7 separate regions of the Homo sapiens genome follow, and regions 1, 2, 3, 4, 5 and 6 are each linked to region 7. Evidence: promoter capture Hi-C in 16 types of primary human blood cells and fetal thymus (Javierre and others, 2016). All regions are on one chromosome and are shown on one strand. Each heading gives the region's core, a stretch centred on a gene start or on the middle of the fragment in contact. The rest is flanking DNA. Distances are from core to core; before and after follow the strand shown. Region 1 has its middle 14 kb from the start of KBTBD8. Region 2 has its middle 4.4 kb from the start of KBTBD8. Region 3 overlaps SLC25A26 (solute carrier family 25 member 26). Region 4 overlaps LRIG1 (leucine rich repeats and immunoglobulin like domains 1). Region 5 overlaps FOXP1-DT (FOXP1 divergent transcript). Region 6 has its middle 36 kb from the start of KBTBD8. Region 7 holds the start of ARL6IP5 (ARF like GTPase 6 interacting protein 5).

Region 1 (2,700 bases), core at 160-2,659, 2.1 Mb after region 7:
CAAACAAAAATCTGAAGGAATTCATGACCTGCAGATCTGTCTTGCAAGCAATGCCCAATAAAAGAAGTTATTTGGGCAGAAGAAAATTGAAACAGAACAGAAACTTAGATCTGCCTAAATAAATGAATACTGAAGGAATAAGTGAAGATGAAGTAAAATATCTTATTTTTTAAATATCAATTGATCTAAAAGTATGACTTTAATCATAACAATGTATTGCATGGTTATAGCATATGGATAACTAAAATGAATGACAGCAATGTCATGAGGGATCAGAGGGGAAAATTGGGAACTTTGTTCTAAGATACCTACACTACACACGAAGCAGTATAGTGTTATTTAAAGGTGGACTTAGATTAGTTTTGAAATGTATATTGTAAGTCTAATGCAACCACTGAAAAAAAAATTAAAGTATAATTGAAGTGCTAAGAGGAGATAAAATAGAATCCTATATAAAATGCTCAGTCAAAACCAGAGAAAGCAGGAAAATAGGTGAAAAAAAGAAACAAAGAAGAAGGGCAACAAATAGAAAACAATAACCAATATGTTAAATATTAACCCAACTATATCAGTACTCACTTTAAATGCAATGCTGGTCTAAACATACCAGTATTCTCACAATGGATATTAAAATAAGTCCCAACTGTAAGTTGTCTACAAGAAAGCCCTTTTAAGTATAAAGATTAGGATAGGTTAAAAGAGAAGGGATGGAGAAAGATAAATGAAGCAAACAGTAATTAAAAGAAAACTTGAGTGGCTATGTTAATTTCAAACAGAGAAGACTTCAGAAAAAAGATTATCAAGGATAAAGAGAAGCAATTACATAATTATGAAAGGGTATATTCCCCAAGAAGACATGATAAAAATATTTTGTACTAAGAAAATGAAAATACTAAATAAAATTTGTGGGATTCTACAAAAGAAATACTTAAAGGAAAATTTATAGCATTAAATGCATATATTAGGAAAAGAAGGCCAGTCACAGTGGCTCATGCCTATAATCCCAGCACTTTGGAAGACTGAGGCAGGCAGAACACTTGAGCCCAGGAGTTTGAGATCAGCTTGGGCAACATGGTGAAACCCCGTATTAACAAAAAAAAAAAAAAAAAAAAAAAAAAAAAATGAAAATTAGCTGGTCACAGTGGCGTGCGCCTGTAGTCCCAGCTACTCAGGAGGCTGAGGTGGGAGGATCTCTTGAGCCGTGGAGGTGACTGCAGTGAGCCAAGATTGCGTCACTGCACTCCAGCCTGGGCAGAGTAAGGCCCTGTCTCAAAAAAAAGAAAAGAAATAGAAAGATGAGTTATTAATACTTAAAGCAACCAGAAGAAAAAAAACTATAAAAATTAGAACAGAAATCAATGAAACCGAAAACACAAAACAATAGAGAAAATTCATTAGAACTAAACCTGGTTTTTTTTTTTTTTGAAAAGACCAATAAAATTGGTAATCCTTTAGGCTCCAAGACTTAACTGAAAATTCATTTCTTCCCACAAGCATTCATTGAGTGCCTACTATGTGCTAGGCATCAATCTAAAGTGCAACAGTGAATTAAAATAAATTCGTTGCCTTTGTGGAGTGTACATTTCAATGGGGGAAGACACATATGGAAAATAAAGCAGAAAAATAAAGCAGGAGGTATGATGGGGGTGGGGTTGGATGATCTTATTTTACAAAATGTGATCAGAGAAGGCCTCTCCAGTAAGGTGATGTTTTAATAAAAAAGAAAGTGAGTGAGTTGTCAAGATCTATCCAGCAAAAGAGACAGCAAGGGCAAAGTCGCTGTGGAGGTGCTCAGCAGGTTTGAGCAACAAGCAAGGTCAGTGTGGCTAAAATAGAGCAAGCCAAGTAAATGGCAACAAGTTTGAGAGGGGTGGATCATGTAAGTATGGAGTTTGGCTGTCATATGAAGGGAGATGGGAAGCCATTGGAAGGATCTGAGCAGAAGAGAAACATGATCTGACTTGTGTTTTAAGAGGATCACTCTGAGTACTGTGTGGAGAAAAGAATAGGTTATGAGGGGTCAAGGGTGATAGAAGGAAGACCAGTCAGTGGAAACTGCATTAAGTCAGATAAGATAAGCTGGCTTAGACTAGGGTGACAGTGGTGCAAATGGTATGTGGTCTGAGTCTGGATGTATTATGAAGGAAGAAGCAACGGGACTTTCTGATGAATTAAACATGAAATACGTAAGAGATTATATAGTGTGGGCATTTGTCCCCTCCAAATCTCATGTCGAAATGTGATCCCCAGTGTTGGAAGAAGTGGGGCCTAGTGGAAGGTATTTGGATCATGGGGGTGGATTCTTCATCAATGGCTTGGTGCCCTCCCTATGGTAATGAGCGCATGTGAGATCCCATTGTTAAAGAGACAGGAACCTCCCCCAACTTTCTCTGGCTCCCTCTCTTTCCTGCTCCCGCTTCACCCTCTGCCATGAGCTAAAGCCTCCTGAGGCCTCAATCTCAGGTATTCCTTTACGGTAATGCAAAGTGGACCAACACAAAAGAGTCAAACATAACAAGATTTTAGGCCAGAACAAACAGAACAAAGAATTTACCAATATAAGTGAACTAACTTGCTTTAGAATTTAAAAAGTATTATATACATAAAGTAGTTCATTTTTTACCAGAGGACAGGTATTCAATAGATTAAAATCTCATTCCATTCTATCATGACATAAGGTATTTCATGATTTTTTACCAG
Region 2 (2,700 bases), core at 133-2,632, 2.1 Mb after region 7:
AAAACTTCTGCATTGGCTAGATAAATGAAACAACAAAAGTGATTATTCAATATAAATTTAATATGACATCAGATACACAAAGTTTTTTAAAATTTCTAAAACTTTATATATTGCCCATGATTTAGTTTCTTTAAATACAAAACTCTAAATAGATACTAACATTAGGTTTACTGATTGGGCACCACTGGGCTTTGTTGTATTTTTAGTTTTTTATTCCCTTTGAGGTTATATGAGGATTCAACATGGTAATAACTAGAAGATTGCATTTCATGAATCACTGAATTTGATCATACTGGAGGATATTAATGTGCATTAATTTTTAAGTATTTGGAATTTAGCATATACATGAAAAAAAGACTTTGAAGCTAGTGGCAGTAATATTCAGTTCCTCAGAAATATTGATTGCCTCCTCCCACAACCTGCATTCTAAGAAGGCACTGTCTGAATCAATGTTTCCTATACAAAACTAGATAGATAGATAGATAGATAGATAGATAGATAGATAGATAGATAAAGATTAGATGGATGTAGAGATATGAGATTCCTAATCTCAAGGATCTTATGGTTTATCTGTGAAAATAAAACTTATTCCCATGAAAATCAACTAGAAAATGAGAACTAAGGGCAACCCCTAGTTAGCATAAAATAAGTATTTCCAACAATTAATATTAAGGATTTCGAAAGAGATAAGAAATTCTGTTCAGCTGGTGTGGGATTTAAGCTGAGCATCCAAAGAGGATACACCATAGAACTATTTGCAAAAGTGATGTGGAGTACTTTCTTGCCTAATTGCTTTATCTTGGCTTGACCCAGAAGGTAAAGCATTCACTTTAATATTGATAGGGCTTAATTTAGGAATAGAACAAGGAAAAGGAATTAATGGTTGTGTTACCTACTTTATTGCACTTAATTTCACCTTTTAATTAAATTTTCTAAGAACAAAGTTACAATGAAGTGACCAAAGCCTTGAGAATTTCAATAACCTGCCCGTAGTCTTTTAGGGGTCTTTGGCTCCAAAGCCAACTGTCTTTTGATAACAGCATGTAAAGGTCTGGGAATAAATGGAGTATTGAAATTGAAGTGTAGGATTTTCTCCCTATTGAACATGTCTGGTTCTTTGTCTAACACAAGGTCAATCAATATCTGTCATGAATGGACAGAATTATTGGTATAGGTTTGAGATGGTTTCACGCCCCAAGAAATTGAAAAAAAAAAAAAAGGAAAGACTAGAGGGATATATGTCATACCATTAAACTAATTTGACTTTGTCAAACCAAATTTATAATTTTAGAGGTATAGTGATTTAGCATGTTTTGTCTGTTCACTAAATAATGAAAAGAAGTGGCTAAAATATATATGTGTGTGATTAGCCATCCATATTTATTAAGTAGACACTGCTTCACTGTTCTACTGAAAGATTGAATTATTGTACCAGATTGGAGATCCTGAATAGAATTACTCTACTTTACCCTTAATTTATTCAGTAATATTCAAACTTAGAATGATTGCATGAGCCAAAGCCACTGTCAAAATGTGAGACATCAGCACTCTTCTCTGTTTGAAGATTGGCTTATAACCCAAATAGAACTAATGGAATTAAACAATGATTGTTGATTCTTTCTAACCCCAATTATGATTTGATTTTTTTTAAGTCCATGGAATCACTAAAAACTCTAAGTGTAAGGAGAATCAGGGATCAGTAATCATCAGTGTGTAGACACAGGAACTGAAATTCATGAAGAATAGGCATCAGGTGTTTGGAAAGGAATTCCTTAAACCCAGCAGAGAGAACATAGAGGATGAGTAGTTGATTATATTTTAATCCCCCAAATAATCAAATATTTATAAATCAAATCTATTGACATGTCACAATAATTTCAGGGATTTTTTTCTGGTTGTTCTACACATGGTTTTTCTTTATCTCAGCACTCTTGGCATTTTCAGCTAGACAATTCTTTGTTGTAGGGGCTGCCCTGTGCATCGTCAGATACTTAGCAGCATCTCTGTCCTCCACCCACTAGGTGCCAGTAGCACCCACCTCTCAGTTACGAAAATTAAAATGGCCCCAGACATTGTCTAATGTCTTCTGGGGGAAAATCATCGCAGTTGAGAACAAGTGTTCTACAACATCCTCCTTCTACCTGCTCTGTGGTCCTCTGTGCTGTATGTTCTCCCACTTTGTTAACAGCACTATTAAAGTTTACATAAGTGTACTTTGTTTATTATTTAAAGGTAGTTTGTTTGTTTTCCTTTTAAATATCCATTTCACAGCGTAGAGTTATACTTCTTGGTTCACAACACAATATTATCTTTGGTCCATATGCCCCATCTCTTTTGCTACATATGTACTGTTGCCTTCAATCCCCATTCTTTACTTCCATCCTCTTCCAACTTCAAATACAACCATTATAATGGGTTTGATGTGGATCCTGTGTTTCTGTTCTTGTAAAATATGTATTAATGTATTGAATATGTGTTGATTATGTGCTCTTATGGTTTATATAATGGTATCATGCTATGGATCTCAATTTGTTTCTAACTTTTTCACTTGGTACCATGTATTTAAGTAAGGTCTATGCATGCTGCTTTGAACGCATGTAGTCAATTCTTTATATTCTTTACATTTCTATCAACTAGCTCACTGTTTGATATGTTATGTATCAATAAATGCTTACATAATTAATTGCATAAATGAATATA
Region 3 (2,700 bases), core at 44-2,543, 2.8 Mb after region 7:
CCCTATTTAATAAACGGTGCTGGGAGAACTGGCAAGCCATATCAAGAAAACTGAAACTAGACCCCTTCCTTATATAAAAATTAACTCAAGATGGATCAAAGACTTAACTGTAAAACCCAGAACCATAAAAACTCTAGAAGAAAATCTAGGCAATACCATTGAGGACACAGGCACAGGCAAAAGTTTCATCACAAAATCGCCAAAAGCAATAGTAACAAAAGCAAAAATTGATAAATGGGATCTAATTAAACTAAAGAGCTTCTGCACAGCAAAAGAAACTATCATCAGAGCAAACAGGCAACCTACAGAGTGGAAGAAAATTTTTGCTATCCATCCATCTGACAAAGGTCTAGTATCCAGAGTCTACAAGGACCTTATATTTACATGAAAAACAAACAAACAAACAAACAGGGGGATCTGGCAAGATGGCTGAATAGGAACAGCTCCGATATGTAGCTCCCAGCAAGGCCATAACAGAAGGTGGGTGATTTCTGCATTTCCAACTGAGGTACCCGGTTCATCTCAATGGGACTGGTTAGACAGTGGGTGCAGCCCACAGTGGGCAAGCAGATGCAGGGTGGGGTGTTGCCTCACCCGAGAAGCACTAGGGGCCAGGGAACTACCTCCCCTAAACAAGGGAAGCCTTGAGGGACTGTGTCATGAGGAATGGTGCATTCCAGCCCAAATACTATGCTTTTCCCACAGTCTTCGCAACCCACAGACGAGGAGATTCCCTCTAGTGCCTACGCCACCAGGGTCTTGGGTTTCAAGCACAAAACTGGGTGGCTGTTTGGGCAGAGCTAGGTGCAGGAGTTTTTTTTTTTCTGTTGTTTCTTTTTTTTCTTCGTACCCAGTGACACCTGGAACCCCAGTGAGACAGAACTGTTTACTCCCATGGAAAGGGGGCTGAAGCCAGGAAGCCAAGTGATCTTGCCCAGTAGGCTCCACCCCCACAGAGCCCAGCAAGCTAAGATCCACTGGCTTGAAATTCTTGCTGCCAGCAAAGCATTCTGAAGTCGACCTGGGGTGATTGGGTTTGGTTAGGGGAAGGGCATCCACCATTACTGAAGCTTGAGTAGGTGGTTTTCCCCTCACAGTGTAAACAAAGCTGCGGCGAAGTTCGGGCTGGGCAGAACCCACTGCAAAGCCACAGTAGCCAGACTGCCTCTCTAGACTGCCTCACTGGGCAGGGCATCTCTGACAGAAAGGCAGCAGCCCCAGTCAGGTGCTTATAGATAAAACTCCCATCTCCATAAGACAGGGCACCTGGGGGAACAGGCAGCTGTGGGCACAGCTTCAGCAGACTTAACTGTTCCTGTCTGCCAGCTCTGAAGAGAGGAGTGGATCTCGCAGCACAGCACTTGAGCTCTGCTAAGGGACACACTGCCTCCTCAAGTGGGTCCCTGACCCCCATGCTTCCTGATGGGGAGACACCTCCCAGGAGGGTTCAACAGACACCTCATAAAAAAGAGCTCCAGCTGGCATCTGGTATGTGCCCCTCTGGGACAAAGCTTTCAGAGGAAGGAGCAGGCAGCAAGCTTTGCTGTTCTGCAGCCTCTGGTGGTGATACCCAGGCACACAGGGTCTGAAATGAACGTCCAGCAAACTCCAGCAGACCTGCAGCAGAGGGGCCTGACTGTTAGAAGGAAAACTAACAAACATAAAGCAATAACATCAACAAAAACAAAAAGGACACCCACGCAAAAACCCTATCCAAAAGTCATCCGCGTCAAAGATCAAAGGCAGACAAATCCATGAAGATGAGGAAAAACCACCAAAAAAAGGCTGAAAACTCCAAAAACCAGAATACCTCTTCTCCAAACGATCACAACTCCTCACCAGCAAGGGAACAAAACTGGGCAGAAAATGAGTATGAAAAACTGACAGAAGTACACTTCAGAAGGTGGGTAATAACAAACTCCTCGGAGCTAAAGGAGCATGTTCTAACCCAATGAAAGCAAGCTAAGAACCTTGATAAAAGGTTACAGGAACAGCTAACTAGAATAACCAGTTTAGACACGAACATAAATGACCTGATGGAGCTGGAAAACACAGCACGAGAATTTCGTGAAGCATACACAAGTATCAATAGCCGAATCGATCAAGCAGAAGAAAGGCTATCAGAGACTGAAGATCAACTTAATGAAATAAAGTGTGACGACAAGATGAGAAAAAATAATGAAAAGGAACGAACAAAGCCTCCAAGAAATATCGGACTATGTGAAAAGACCAAACCTACGATTGATTGGTGTACCCGAAAGTGACAGGGAGAATGGAACCACGTTGGAAAACACACTTGAGGATATTACCCAGGAGAACTTCTCCAACCTAGCAAGAAAGGCCAACATTCAAATTCAGGAAATACAGAGAGCACCACTAAGATACTCCTCGAGAAGATCAACCCAAGACACATAATCATCAGATTCACCAAGGTTGAAAGGAAGGAAAAAATGTTAAGGGCAGCCGGAGAGAAAGGTCAGGCTACCTACAAGGTGAAGCCCATCAGACTAACAGCAGATCTCTCTGTAGAAACGCTACAAGCCAAAAGAGAGTAAAGGCCAATATTCAACATTCTTAAAGAAAAGAACTTTCAACCCAGAATTTCATATCCAGCCAAACTAAGCTTCATAAGCAAAGAAGAAATAAAATCCTTTACAGACAAGCAAATGCTAAGAGATTTTGTCACCACCGGGCCTGCCT
Region 4 (2,700 bases), core at 101-2,600, 2.6 Mb after region 7:
ACATGTTGCCCTTTGACAGGGGCAAATTTCGGCCCACGGGGAGTGTTCTCACCGATGGTCTTAGGGGCGCTTTTGTCCCGAACCTGCCTCTTGGCTTGTTCTCACTGTTCCTTGTCTTGATTTCTGAGTTTGATGGGAAGCTGATGGGAGACAGGAGATGCTTCCCCTTAGTGTTTGTTTCTAGCCATGGGTGTGATCAGTGGCTAGTTTTTGTGATCTCATGTGACTTCTTTCCCTTTAAAAACTCACTGCTAAATTCTTTCTCTTTTCTCCAACATTAGAATATAGGTTTACTGTGGCAGACTTAGCAGCGTTTGTTTATTTCTGTTGTATGTGTATGATTTCAGACTAATTCAAATGCCTTACATGATTAATTTCTTGTTGTTGTTACAGGTACCTCAATAATAATGAGTTGACAGCGGTACCATCCCTGGGCGCTGCTTCATCACATGTCGTCTCTCTCTTTCTGTAAGTGGTGCCGTTTGGGGGACTCTGGGCTGTGTGGTGGGGCCATGGTGTTTGTTGCCTTGCTGATACCTGGTGGCAGGATAACTTGAGTTCATGTGCTCGCTGGTGAAGAAAGACCTTTCTTCATGTGGCCCTCATGATCATGACAAACGCTTTGCTTGCTGTTTTGGGATTTGCAGAATTAAACGCTGGAAGTTTTACCTCATCTTTAATTTGCAAGAAAGTAGGTCTTTTGTCTTTTTTTTTTTTAATGCGCAGAGGTATATGGAACTAGATTTCTTGCTTCTGTGGTTGGTTAAGCTGCAACTTTGAGTAAAACTGGAGTTAAAGGAAGCTGTGTCAGTTATAAGACAGCAAGCTAATCTTTGTGCCAGTGAATTGGGTAATGTGACTCAGTTTACTTTTGTGGCTTTAAGAAAAAGAAAGTGCCCCCAGGCCTCTGGAATCAACGTAAAACTATGTTGTCATGGTCAAGTGTTAGATAAGATGCGATCTATTTGTTCTAGACAGCACACTGGAAATGAAAAAGCAGATGAAGGGCCTTAGCTAAAAAGACATGAAGGCACCCATTGGGAATATTATCATTTGTGCTGTTACAAACCTTTGCTAGAGAACTGAGCACTGATCCTACCCCTATTTCTTCAGCAGTCAGGTGGAGGAGCTTGCTTGTTTTAAACTCACCCAGAAGACTTTCCAGATAAACCAGCCATGAGTCCAACAGTTTTCTCTGCCAGATTTTATTGGCAGCTTCCCCAGCAGAGCACCTCCCTCTTCACACTGAATTTCCTGTTTCCACTCCAGGCTTTCATAGTTTAATTTTATTTTGATTTTGCTGGTTTTATAATTAGTTTGCTCACCTATATGAATCTTTTCTCAATACTGAGGCTCGGCAGGCTGAGCAGAGAAACTTTGCAAGAAGGTGCTATTAATAAGAGTGCTGGCATAGCTTACAGATCTCGGATCTTTGGCTGGCAGCATGCCCTGTGTTCAGGAGGTGCTGTGTCCCTGTGAAACATGGTCTTGGGTTTAACCCTTTTCATGGCATTGTGGGATTGCAGGAGAGCGTGGGGGGTTAGAATTGCACTTCACTCTGTGCCCTGGACAGATGACCTAGTCTCTCTGAACCTCGTTTCCCTCATTTACATAATGCATTTTTGACCCATTTTATACATGAGGAAAGTGAGGCCCGGGGGAGTGGAATGTATATGAAGCTCCCAGCATTCTGTGGGAGTGTTTGACAAATGGTGGTTACTGTCATTGGCTGGTGGCTAGTTGTCACGTAGCTCCTTGGATCTTGGCAGGATCTCACCTTTAAGGCCGCAGGATTTAAGAGTCAGTCTCTGTTTCTGTGAAGTGCTGGAAGGAAGGTTTGTGGCCCTTTGTTCCCTTGATGGGTAAAGGTCTGACTTTATTTTGTACCCACTTGGTTTGTGGGCCCAGCATCTGGAAGGTGTTTAATTTTTGGCTTAATCAATGAGTTCGTCTTATGTGAGGCTGATAGGGATGTGATAACCTGTTGTGTGTCCATAAAGCAAAGCACTTGAAGATGCTAGGAGCTCCTTGCTGCTTAAAGCACAGGTCATGGACCATCAGTATTGAGTTAGCTTCGAGCTTGTTAGAAATGCAGAACCTCAGGCTTAATGCCAACACTACTGGATCAGAAGCTCCATTTAACAAGGGCCCTGGCCGTTTGTCCACGAGTTCAAGTTTGAGAAATGCTGATGTAACTGCTCTTGTTCCTCACATAGTGAGGAAGCTAGGGCCACAGAGAATATCTCTGTGTTGTCAGAGAGGAAACTGAGCCTCCCTGGAGGTCTTATAAGTTGTAAAAGTGAGAGGTGGAACTGAGACCAGACACAAACGCCTTTGCATCACTCCTTTAACCCCATGCACTCGGGGCAGGAGCGTGGCAGGTGACTCTGAACCACACTGTGCCAGAGGCAGGCAGGGCCCCCAGTTTGCCCCACGGGCCTGTGGCACTTAGAATTGCACCTTGCTCTGCTGACTAAAAATACATTTCTGTTCCTTGGCCCAAGTGCCAAGAGAAGTGGGGCTGTTTGGCCTTGTTCCTGCTATTCCATTAGACAGCATTGAAGTATGTAAAGCAGGAGAGAAAAAAAAGAGAGTTACTCCCTGTTTGGATTCAGTTTGGAAAATGCAGGTTAGCACTGGCAGCCAGCTCTTTGGCCTGAAGTTGGGCACCATCTGACTTGGTCAGTGATTTCTCTGAAA
Region 5 (2,700 bases), core at 195-2,694, 2.5 Mb before region 7:
TTGCAGGCCATATTTATTTATGTTTATATAACTGCATACTTTAAAAAAAAGCAGCAAGTGCAGTCTTGGTAACTAAGGTCTCACTCTCCAGTTAGAAAAACAGAAAAAGCACTATTGTTTCTAGATTTAACTCTGAGCCTCTTAAGTTTTGTTGTGGGGGAAAACACTTTTTAAGCTAGGGTCATTCCCCGTTCCCTGACTAGCTTTTCCACCCACTCAAATTATCAAATGTGGTTTTGTCTCAGAGTGTGCCTGTTAATATTGTATACTTTAAAACAAGAGATCCCCTGCTGATTTCCGGTGTGGACATATAGGGACATGAGGACACAGAGGATGGGCTCCTCTTACCACTTACTGTGAAGCACATGATTTTCATTAGCCATTTTTATCTTCTTGGAAGGCAACTGAGTTTAAGCTTTCATTTAGAGAATGGTCTGCCCACGCTTACTAACCTCCCCTCTCTGAATCCACTTTTCTCTTCTCAACCCTCCCTTCTTTCTTTGCTGTGTTGACCCCCACCTGGATGTCTGTCACATCTATGGAGAGAGGGTGGAGAGAAAGGACGGTGAGCAGGGGGTTGAACTTGTTCTTGACCCTCTGTGGCCTCAGTTTCTCCCAGATCTGTAAAGGGGTCTGTAGGTTAGCTGTTTCTGAGAAGCTAGACAAACCACTTAAGTCTGAGGATTGGTCACTTTAGTGGAAAGAGTGAGATGGAAACCCACAAAGTCAGGACACCTGGATTCTAATCCTTGTCCAACCAGTAACCAAATTTATTTTGCCTTGGAGGGCAAATGAAATCCCTGGGCCTTAGATTCCTCATCTGTAATGCGATATTCTTAGTTATGCCCATGTTTTTTAAAGTGTAGGAACCTTGGCACTAGGATGGCATAACACTGAATCACACATTGAGAACTGTATTCCTTTCCGATCACTTTAAATCCTTCTGGTTGTTAAAAAAAAAAAAAAAAAAAAAACAGAAAAAAAGAGAGAGAAAAAACAAAAATTCAAAAATTTCCATTGATACTCTTGTCCTTAACCCTTCTCAACATTTGCCACTCTCCCTCCTTTTTTCAAAAATCATTTTTAATTTTTGTTTTGACCCTCAAAGAGAAATCAGTGACTTTGTTTTTACTGTGCTTGTTTTTAATTTATGGTGGGTGATACTGATTTCCCATTTAAGGCAGTAATAGAAAAAAATTAAAAGAAGGTTGATTTAAATGAAAATGTTTGCTACAATTACCATAATAAGTGGCCTCCAATGAGTATGGTATATTAATTATTCGGGAACTGTTATGTCATATAGATATGGCAAAAATCAGGACACCAGTAACTGTGGTTAAAGAAACACTAAATTAAGTGGTTTTAGTTTTTGTTCAACTCAAAACTTACAAGAGCATTCAGGTACGTCGTCAGGTGGTAAATGTCCACTCCAGTTTCTGTTCCCCAAATGTACATATATTTAGTGACATGGTATTTGGTGAATGAAGCTCATGTTTGGTGTATACAATCAACAGTAATGTGACAGGGGACTAACATATTCTGATACGTTTGGGAAAATTTTGGCTGCAGTTAACTATAATTTGCTAATTTTGCATTTACATTGGTTTTTTTTTTCTCCTGTTACTTAAAATATAACGAAATGGGGACAAGCACCTTTGCCTTGGTGTAATTAAAAATAAAATTATGTCAGGAACATCTGTTTTCAGAAGGGATTTCTATTTGTTTTATCACCAAAAGGTGGCGTCCTACCCCCATGCCCTTTATTTTAAAACCTTTCTTGCTTTAATTTAACAAAAAGAAACTTCCAGTTGATTACTGATAAAGAAATTAAAATCTGCCCCCCACGAATGTAACGTGACAGTGTTGAAAATGAACAATATGTTAAGCTGCAGTTAAGTTTCCCTCTAATGTAAACCAAATGGACATCGAGTTCTTTAATAAGGCAGCACAGCACATTAGACAGTATCATACAAAATTGAGTACAATATATCATGGGATTTACAACCAGGATTTCCTTTTGTCTGCAAAACTTGTTGCCAACCTGACTGTGGCCCCCACTTGCAAGTGAATGTAGAATTTAAGGCAGTTAAAATGCAGAATCAGATTAGCAGCAATCTAAAGATCTTTTTAGTATTGCGATGATAATAATTTTTAATAAACACACTGCTTAATCTGAAAAACAAGATCAGAGGATGAATTGTTCTTTACAGACTATGAATAGATCTGTTACATTTAAATAAGTCGTTATTCCCCTGAGTTATAATTCTACAGTCAGGCATATACCATAAACATGTTATATTTGGCATAAAGTACTTTAGAAATTAAAAACCATTTTTAATAGGTTGACCACTACAGAACCAGTAGACTGGCTACTTTGTAGATTTCCACTTAATTCCGTGTGAATTCAGCATATGGAATTTCCAGTGATGTCAAAGAGTTGTTGGCAGTATTAACTGAGTTGACATAAAGCTTTTAGTTCAGTGCCTAGATCATAGTATTTAATAAATGTTAGATGTTATTATTGACAGCTTAGACTGTGAGCTCCTCAAGGGCAGGAATTTTTATTTTTTCATCCCTCTGTGCCCACTCTGTGGTCTAGCACACAGTGGGTATGTCATTAATCCCTTTATGTCTTGACAAACAAGACGTCGAACCCTAGCCTCTAGGAAGCTAGGACATTCCATACAAACTAAAATGCAT
Region 6 (2,700 bases), core at 193-2,692, 2.1 Mb after region 7:
AGAACTTTCTCAAGCTGGTGTCAGGGATATGTGGCAGAACATGAAGTCAGAGAGACGGGAAGCATGAGAGCTCTCCCTGCCATTGCGGGTCTGAAGGTGGAGCCAGTCACATAAAAAGCATGAGAGGGAAATGAGTTCTGCAAGTAAGCAAGAAGCTCCTAAGAGGACCCTGAGTGCCAGGGGAGAACTGCAGCCCCCACTGATACCTCGATTTTGACTTATTTTATTTTATTTTATTTTACTTTATTTTATTTTTTGAGGCAGGGTCTTACTCTGTTGCCCAGGTTGGAGTAGAGTGGCACAATCACAGCTCACTGCAGCCATGACTTCCTGGGCTCAACCAATCCTTCCTTCTCAGCCCTCAGTAGCTGCAACTACAGGCATGTGTCACTGCACCCAGCTAACTTTTAAACATTTTTTTTTTTGTAGATACATGGTCTCCCTATGTTGCCCCAGCTGGTCTTGAACTCCTGGGATCAAGCAATCCTCCTGCCTTGGCCTTCCAAAGTGCTGGGATTACAGGCATGAGCCACTGCACCTGGCCTATGACTAATATTTATAGTACACAAAATCCCAATATAATGGAATCAGGTTCAAGTGGTTCAGATTACTAGAAATCACAGTGAGAATTGGAGGTAAAGCTGACACAGATTCTCTGAACAGAACTAGCAAGTGAGAAAAATGATAGGGCACACTGGCAAATCAAGAAGTAGAATTGAGTTAATGGTGATGGCATCAAAATAGATAGAAACCTTTATATAAGCATGCATTAAGCCCTTCAAAGAACTGAAGAGGGTGTGTGTGTGTGTGCACACATATGTGTGTGTATGTGTGTGTGCATGTGTGTCTGTATAAGATGCGGGTGTTTGGGGGCAGTTTCGTCATGACTAAGACCATTGGGACATCTGCAGTCAAAGAAGGTAAAGGGAATCCAAAGTCTGGTACTTGATTGTAGAACAAAAAAACTGTGATGAACTCAAGCACGTATCAGTTCACCCTTTCTTCCAATTTGCAAGACACGGAGCCTATAATCAATCACTATTTTTAGAGAAAGTAATGATTAGATGGAAAGGAATCAGCAGAAAGCACATGGTTTACAGAATTGTTTCTCACAGAGGTTATTGTAACCAGAGCAACACATTGTCTTCATTATGGGTCATAAAAAAATTGCTCATTTCCCTAGACTTTTTTTGCTGTGATGCAACATTATTTATATTTTACAAGTTGACGTAAATGGTATCTTGATGAGCATTTTTGGAAAGAGTTGCTCCTTGATTAAGAAATGCTAAGCTTTCTCTGATTGATTCTAAATTATGCTATACTTTTTTTTTTTTGGCAAATGTCTATTGTTATAAATCTGGCCATTAGATATTTCTAGGAACATCAGTATCAAGTGAGAAGCCACTGTATCTCTCTAGGGTCTGTGAGCCTCTGAAGTTAAATACTTGGGAGTATAAGTGCATATTTCTGTAAAAAAAATAAAAATAAAAATAAAAATAAAAAGAGGCCATAGTGTCATCAGATGTTCAAAAGAGTCTGGAACTAAGTTTTTTTTTAAATTAGGAAACCCTTTGCTCTGAATGTACAAGCTTAGTTATTTATTTCAGGTTGTAACCTTGCCTTGGCCCAGTGTATTTTCCATTAATCTCCAGAAGTGCTTTAGATTCATGAGAGTAGACCCCCCACGCTCAACCCTGTGTGACAGGAAGGAGCCCAATTAAATAAATACACGTTTTTGAAATAATTATGTTGTGACTGGTGAGGATCAAATAATTAATTCATCTTCTTTTTTAAACTTTTAGCGAACATTTCACAATGATGCTCTTTCCACCTTTGTAAAATAGGGAGATGTCATTTGTAGTAGGCACAATGGTTAGCCCACATGAGTGAGACTTAGTATAGATTTTAAAATACTGAGGTTCAGCCATAACAATAAAGTGGTTCTCAGAGTGACAAACAACATGTGCTTAAAATCTTTCAGTGGTGCCCCCAAATTCCTAGAATAAATCCCAAATTCCTTCAGTAGCTTTGTAATCTAACCCCAAGTGTACAGGTTTATCTTTTAATATTACAGAGTTTCTTAGCTTAAGCATTACTGACCTTGAGAGCTGGTCTTTGTTGTGGAGGCTGTCCTGTGCACTGGCGGATGTTTAGCAGCTTCCCTGACCTCTACCCACTACAAGCTAATAGCAGCCCCCTCTGCCACTTGTGACACCAAAAGTGTTGCCAGAAATTGACAAATGTTCCCTGGGGCCAAAGTCTGCCTTGATTAAGAACCACTCATTTATAGTCCTTCATTCTCTCAACTCATCTCCACCATGATGAACTTCCTTCCATTTCGGAATGCACATTTCTTTCTCCTCTGTACCTTTGTACCTCTGTACCTTTTATGTATGCACCACACTTCCCACTCTGTTATGCCTAGCAAACTCCTCCGTCTTATCTTCAGGACTCAGCTTAGCAGCCTGGGTTAGATAGGTACAGCTTCCACCTGCATTTCCTCTTTCACAGCCTAGCTCTGTTGTATGATTTAGTTGAAGGTTTATCTGTACCTCCTATTAAACCATAAGTGGCAAGAGATCAAGATCATTACTGAGGTCTTCACTGCTGTATTGCATTGCCTGGCACATATTAGGAGCACAATAAAGAGTTGCTGAATAAACTAACATTTGAGCCCCACAAAGATAAGTCAACACTACT
Region 7 (2,700 bases), core at 1-2,500:
TTTCTCCCAAGCCAGCTTGCTGCTTCTTCCCTCTACGTCTGCCCTGAAATAGAAATGTCAGACATTTAAGTGCAAGTGAGTCCTTTATAAAGTCTGAGGGTGGCTTTTTCTTTAAAGATGTGTAGGAGATAATCAGCAAGATTGAGAATATCACCACCCATCCTGCATAAGCGAGAGAAGCATTTCTTAAAGGGTGAACTAGAAGGAAAGGTGGTTTCTAGGAAAGCAGGTGTACATGCAGTCTCAACACAGGATACTTTGTTAAGTATCAGGTATTGAAAAGGCCTTCTGATACATTGAAACCTCAGGCTAGGAAGCGAAGACAGAGAAAGTGACCACGCCTGGCCACTGCTGGAAGAAAATGCCAGAAGGCCATCTTCCCACAGTCATGGCAGCCTTTACCCCACAATGGGAGATGCGCCACCAGGAGACACCCCCCCTTTTGATCCCAAGCTCAGCTTTACTGTACAGTGTGGCAGGCATTAGGCAGAGAAAGCAGCAAAGTGCGTCGCCACTTGGTTGCCCTTTTTACACTAGCCCGGGTCCACACCCTGCCGCCCCAGCCAGCTCCAGGGTAGGGTTACACCACTTTCCTTTTTCTTCTTATTTTTAAAAGACGAGGGCGCTACAAATATCTTTCCAGCAAGAGCCCGATCCTGGCACGCGGGCGGGGGCAGGGGGGTGGGGGAACTCTCATTTTTCTTCCCTGCGGCTGGCAAATTTTCCCCGTCCTCTTTCCCCTAGGGCCCCCCTCAAGTCTCAGCCCTTGGTGCAGAAAATGGGGCCCCAGGTTACTGCGGCCTCGCCCTGCAAACAAGTTTCCACTGGCTTGGCCGCTTGCAGAATTGCCAGGGCAGGCGCTGAGCGTGGTCAGAGAGCGTCTCTACATCCCGGGATCTTGCACCCCGAGGCCCCTCCGTGCTCGCCCCGGATCGGTGTCCCGGGTAGGGGGACCCCACTTACCCCACAATGGAAATCATCATGGCAGCCACCACCAGGTAGTTGGTCTGGTAATAGAGCAGGTTGCTCACTACGCGGTTGTTCCATTTGGAAATGTCCCTGAAGTCCGGCCGGGCAAAGCGATCGGAACCCGGGAAGAAATCGTCCCAGGCGCGGAGTGGGGCGATATTAACGTCCATGTTCTCAGCTTTGCGTTCTTCGCCTCCAGAATCTGGCGGCGGCGGCGGCGGCAACCGATCAGCTGAGCTGAGTTGGAGAGTTGACAGCGGCTCCGTCTCGGTCGGCTTTGCGGTTGGCAGACAGCAGAGCAAAGGAAATTGGGAGTGGGCGGGCGTGTTTGCTCCTCTTTACTTCTTCATTGGCTCTTGGTTGGGTACAGGAAAACAGGAACCTCCAGACAGAACAAGGGACTGAGTGCAGAATAGAGACGAAATGACAGAAAGCAACTAGCGGAAATCCCCTGTCTGAAGGGAGGTGGCAATGCCTTCTCTAGCAGCAGAGAAGCTGCCTCCTTCGAAATACCTTTTTTGAAGGTTTACCTAGGAGTGTGTTCTCTGACTTAGAGAAAAATTTTGGCAGCTGTGCAGATGCCAATCTAAGTGAAATGAAATGGAAGGCGACTACAGTGTTAATGGAGAATGAGCTGCTTTTGAAAACTAAGTCTTACTAACCTCTACACATCTGAATGCAATTCCCATGTTTTCTCTGTTTCACCATGAGTCACTATGTGTGAAATCAGATTGGCAAAACGGGAAAGAAGGTCATGTAGAACAGAAGGGCTGGTCTGTTTTTTTCACTTCTCTTCTTTGTTCTCCACCTCTGTTCTCTCTAGGCTAAATTGTTGGACTGCTATGCCATTCTGATAAAGTAGGCACTCTGGCCACTTCAGTCCTGAGCTGGGCATGTTGCTTACATTTTAAAGCAAACAGTTGTCTGCAGTGAACTAGTTGTTCTGCATCCAGCATTTTCTGGGCAGAAATATGCATTCCACTTCAAAAGTTTTCTTAGTTTTATTGCAATATTTGGTGACAGCTTTCACTGAGGGACCACAATATATTCATAGATAACGTGATGTTTTGTATCCCAGCCCAAAGACCTGGCAAAAGAAGTATTCGTTGTCAATTCTCTTCTAAGCTTCCAAGGGTCATCTTTTTTCAGTTAAGGGGCTGATTGGTACAATGCATGAGAAAAAAAGTAGTTTGTTTAATTGTATAATGTAATAGGTAGAATTCTAAGGTGAAGATTTCTAAGATAACAGAGTCTCTAAGCCCCTAAGTGGCTTAGACAAGGTGAATTCACTCTACTCAGATCACCAATTTTTGAAAACTTGGAAAGTAATGAAATATACTAATGCAAAGTCTAGAAAACATAATTTAATTTTCCTTATTAATTCAGAAGACAGTTAAGGAGCTTACAGCGACTCTAAGAAATTACTACTACTACTGTTGTTTAGGAAAATTTGGTGATTGCATGGAATTAGTGCTAAGATATATCTTATGTGCTGCTTTTTGAATAAAGTTTAAAATGTGAAAATATTCCTGAGTGCTCATGTTTTCTTGATTCTGGAAAAATGGGATGGTGTGAAGTCAGAGAAAGCAAAATTAGAGTCGCAGCTCCTTCCTCTCTGGCAGGTGACTTTGGAGAAACTACTTAATCTCTCCCAGCCTCGGTGTCTTCATGTGTAAAGTGGGGATAATGGAACATCTGCCATATAGACGAGGCTAAGTGAAGGAATGTATA

What was found. The method cuts DNA at HindIII sites, captures the fragments that hold promoters and counts their contacts. A CHiCAGO score of 5 or more calls a contact.
Region 1: a fragment that was not itself captured here is called in contact with the fragment with the promoter of ARL6IP5 in region 7 in 5 of 17 cell types (total B cells, erythroblasts, total CD8 T cells and 2 more); the score reaches 13.4 in total B cells.
Region 2: a fragment that was not itself captured here is called in contact with the fragment with the promoter of ARL6IP5 in region 7 in 11 of 17 cell types (total B cells, naive CD4 T cells, fetal thymus and 8 more); the score reaches 32.1 in total B cells.
Region 3: a fragment that was not itself captured here is called in contact with the fragment with the promoter of ARL6IP5 in region 7 in 1 of 17 cell types (non-activated CD4 T cells); the score reaches 5.7 in non-activated CD4 T cells.
Region 4: a fragment that was not itself captured here is called in contact with the fragment with the promoter of ARL6IP5 in region 7 in 1 of 17 cell types (non-activated CD4 T cells); the score reaches 5.2 in non-activated CD4 T cells.
Region 5: a contact is called between a fragment that was not itself captured here and the fragment with the promoter of ARL6IP5 in region 7, in 1 of 17 cell types (naive B cells). The highest score is 5.6, in naive B cells.
Region 6: a contact is called between a fragment that was not itself captured here and the fragment with the promoter of ARL6IP5 in region 7, in 2 of 17 cell types (total B cells and naive B cells). The highest score is 7.3, in total B cells.

The regions. Positions count from the first base shown.
Region 1 is chr3:67,011,263-67,013,962 of GRCh38, reverse strand. No RefSeq gene overlaps it. Among named protein-coding and RNA genes, the nearest start is that of KBTBD8, 14 kb to the right of the region's middle. The HindIII fragment of the contact is 4,490 bases long and covers 1-2,700 here.
Region 2 is chr3:66,992,599-66,995,298 of GRCh38, reverse strand. No RefSeq gene overlaps it. Among named protein-coding and RNA genes, the nearest start is that of KBTBD8, 4.4 kb to the left of the region's middle. The HindIII fragment of the contact is 8,708 bases long and covers 1-2,700 here.
Region 3 is chr3:66,310,676-66,313,375 of GRCh38, reverse strand. All of the region lies in intron 5 of SLC25A26 (solute carrier family 25 member 26), which reads right to left. Among named protein-coding and RNA genes, the nearest start is that of SLC25A26, 91 kb to the right of the region's middle. The HindIII fragment of the contact is 441 bases long and covers 1,073-1,513 here.
Region 4 is chr3:66,449,327-66,452,026 of GRCh38, reverse strand. It overlaps LRIG1 (leucine rich repeats and immunoglobulin like domains 1), which reads left to right. Exons shown (of 19, transcript NM_015541.3): 3 at 394-468. Among named protein-coding and RNA genes, the nearest start is that of LRIG1, 50 kb to the left of the region's middle. The HindIII fragment of the contact is 4,284 bases long and covers 1-2,700 here.
Region 5 is chr3:71,585,781-71,588,480 of GRCh38, reverse strand. FOXP1-DT (FOXP1 divergent transcript) reads right to left here. Exons shown (of 1, transcript NR_182289.1): 1 at 1,072-2,700. Among named protein-coding and RNA genes, the nearest start is that of FOXP1-DT, 2.2 kb to the right of the region's middle. The HindIII fragment of the contact is 2,054 bases long and covers 418-2,471 here.
Region 6 is chr3:67,033,052-67,035,751 of GRCh38, reverse strand. No RefSeq gene overlaps it. Among named protein-coding and RNA genes, the nearest start is that of KBTBD8, 36 kb to the right of the region's middle. The HindIII fragment of the contact is 299 bases long and covers 1,293-1,591 here.
Region 7 is chr3:69,083,487-69,086,186 of GRCh38, reverse strand. ARL6IP5 (ARF like GTPase 6 interacting protein 5) reads right to left here and starts at 1,250. Exons shown (of 3, transcript NM_006407.4): 1 at 964-1,250. The coding sequence starts at 1,139. RefSeq lists an enhancer at 1,170-1,479. The HindIII fragment of the contact is 15,418 bases long and covers 1-2,096 here.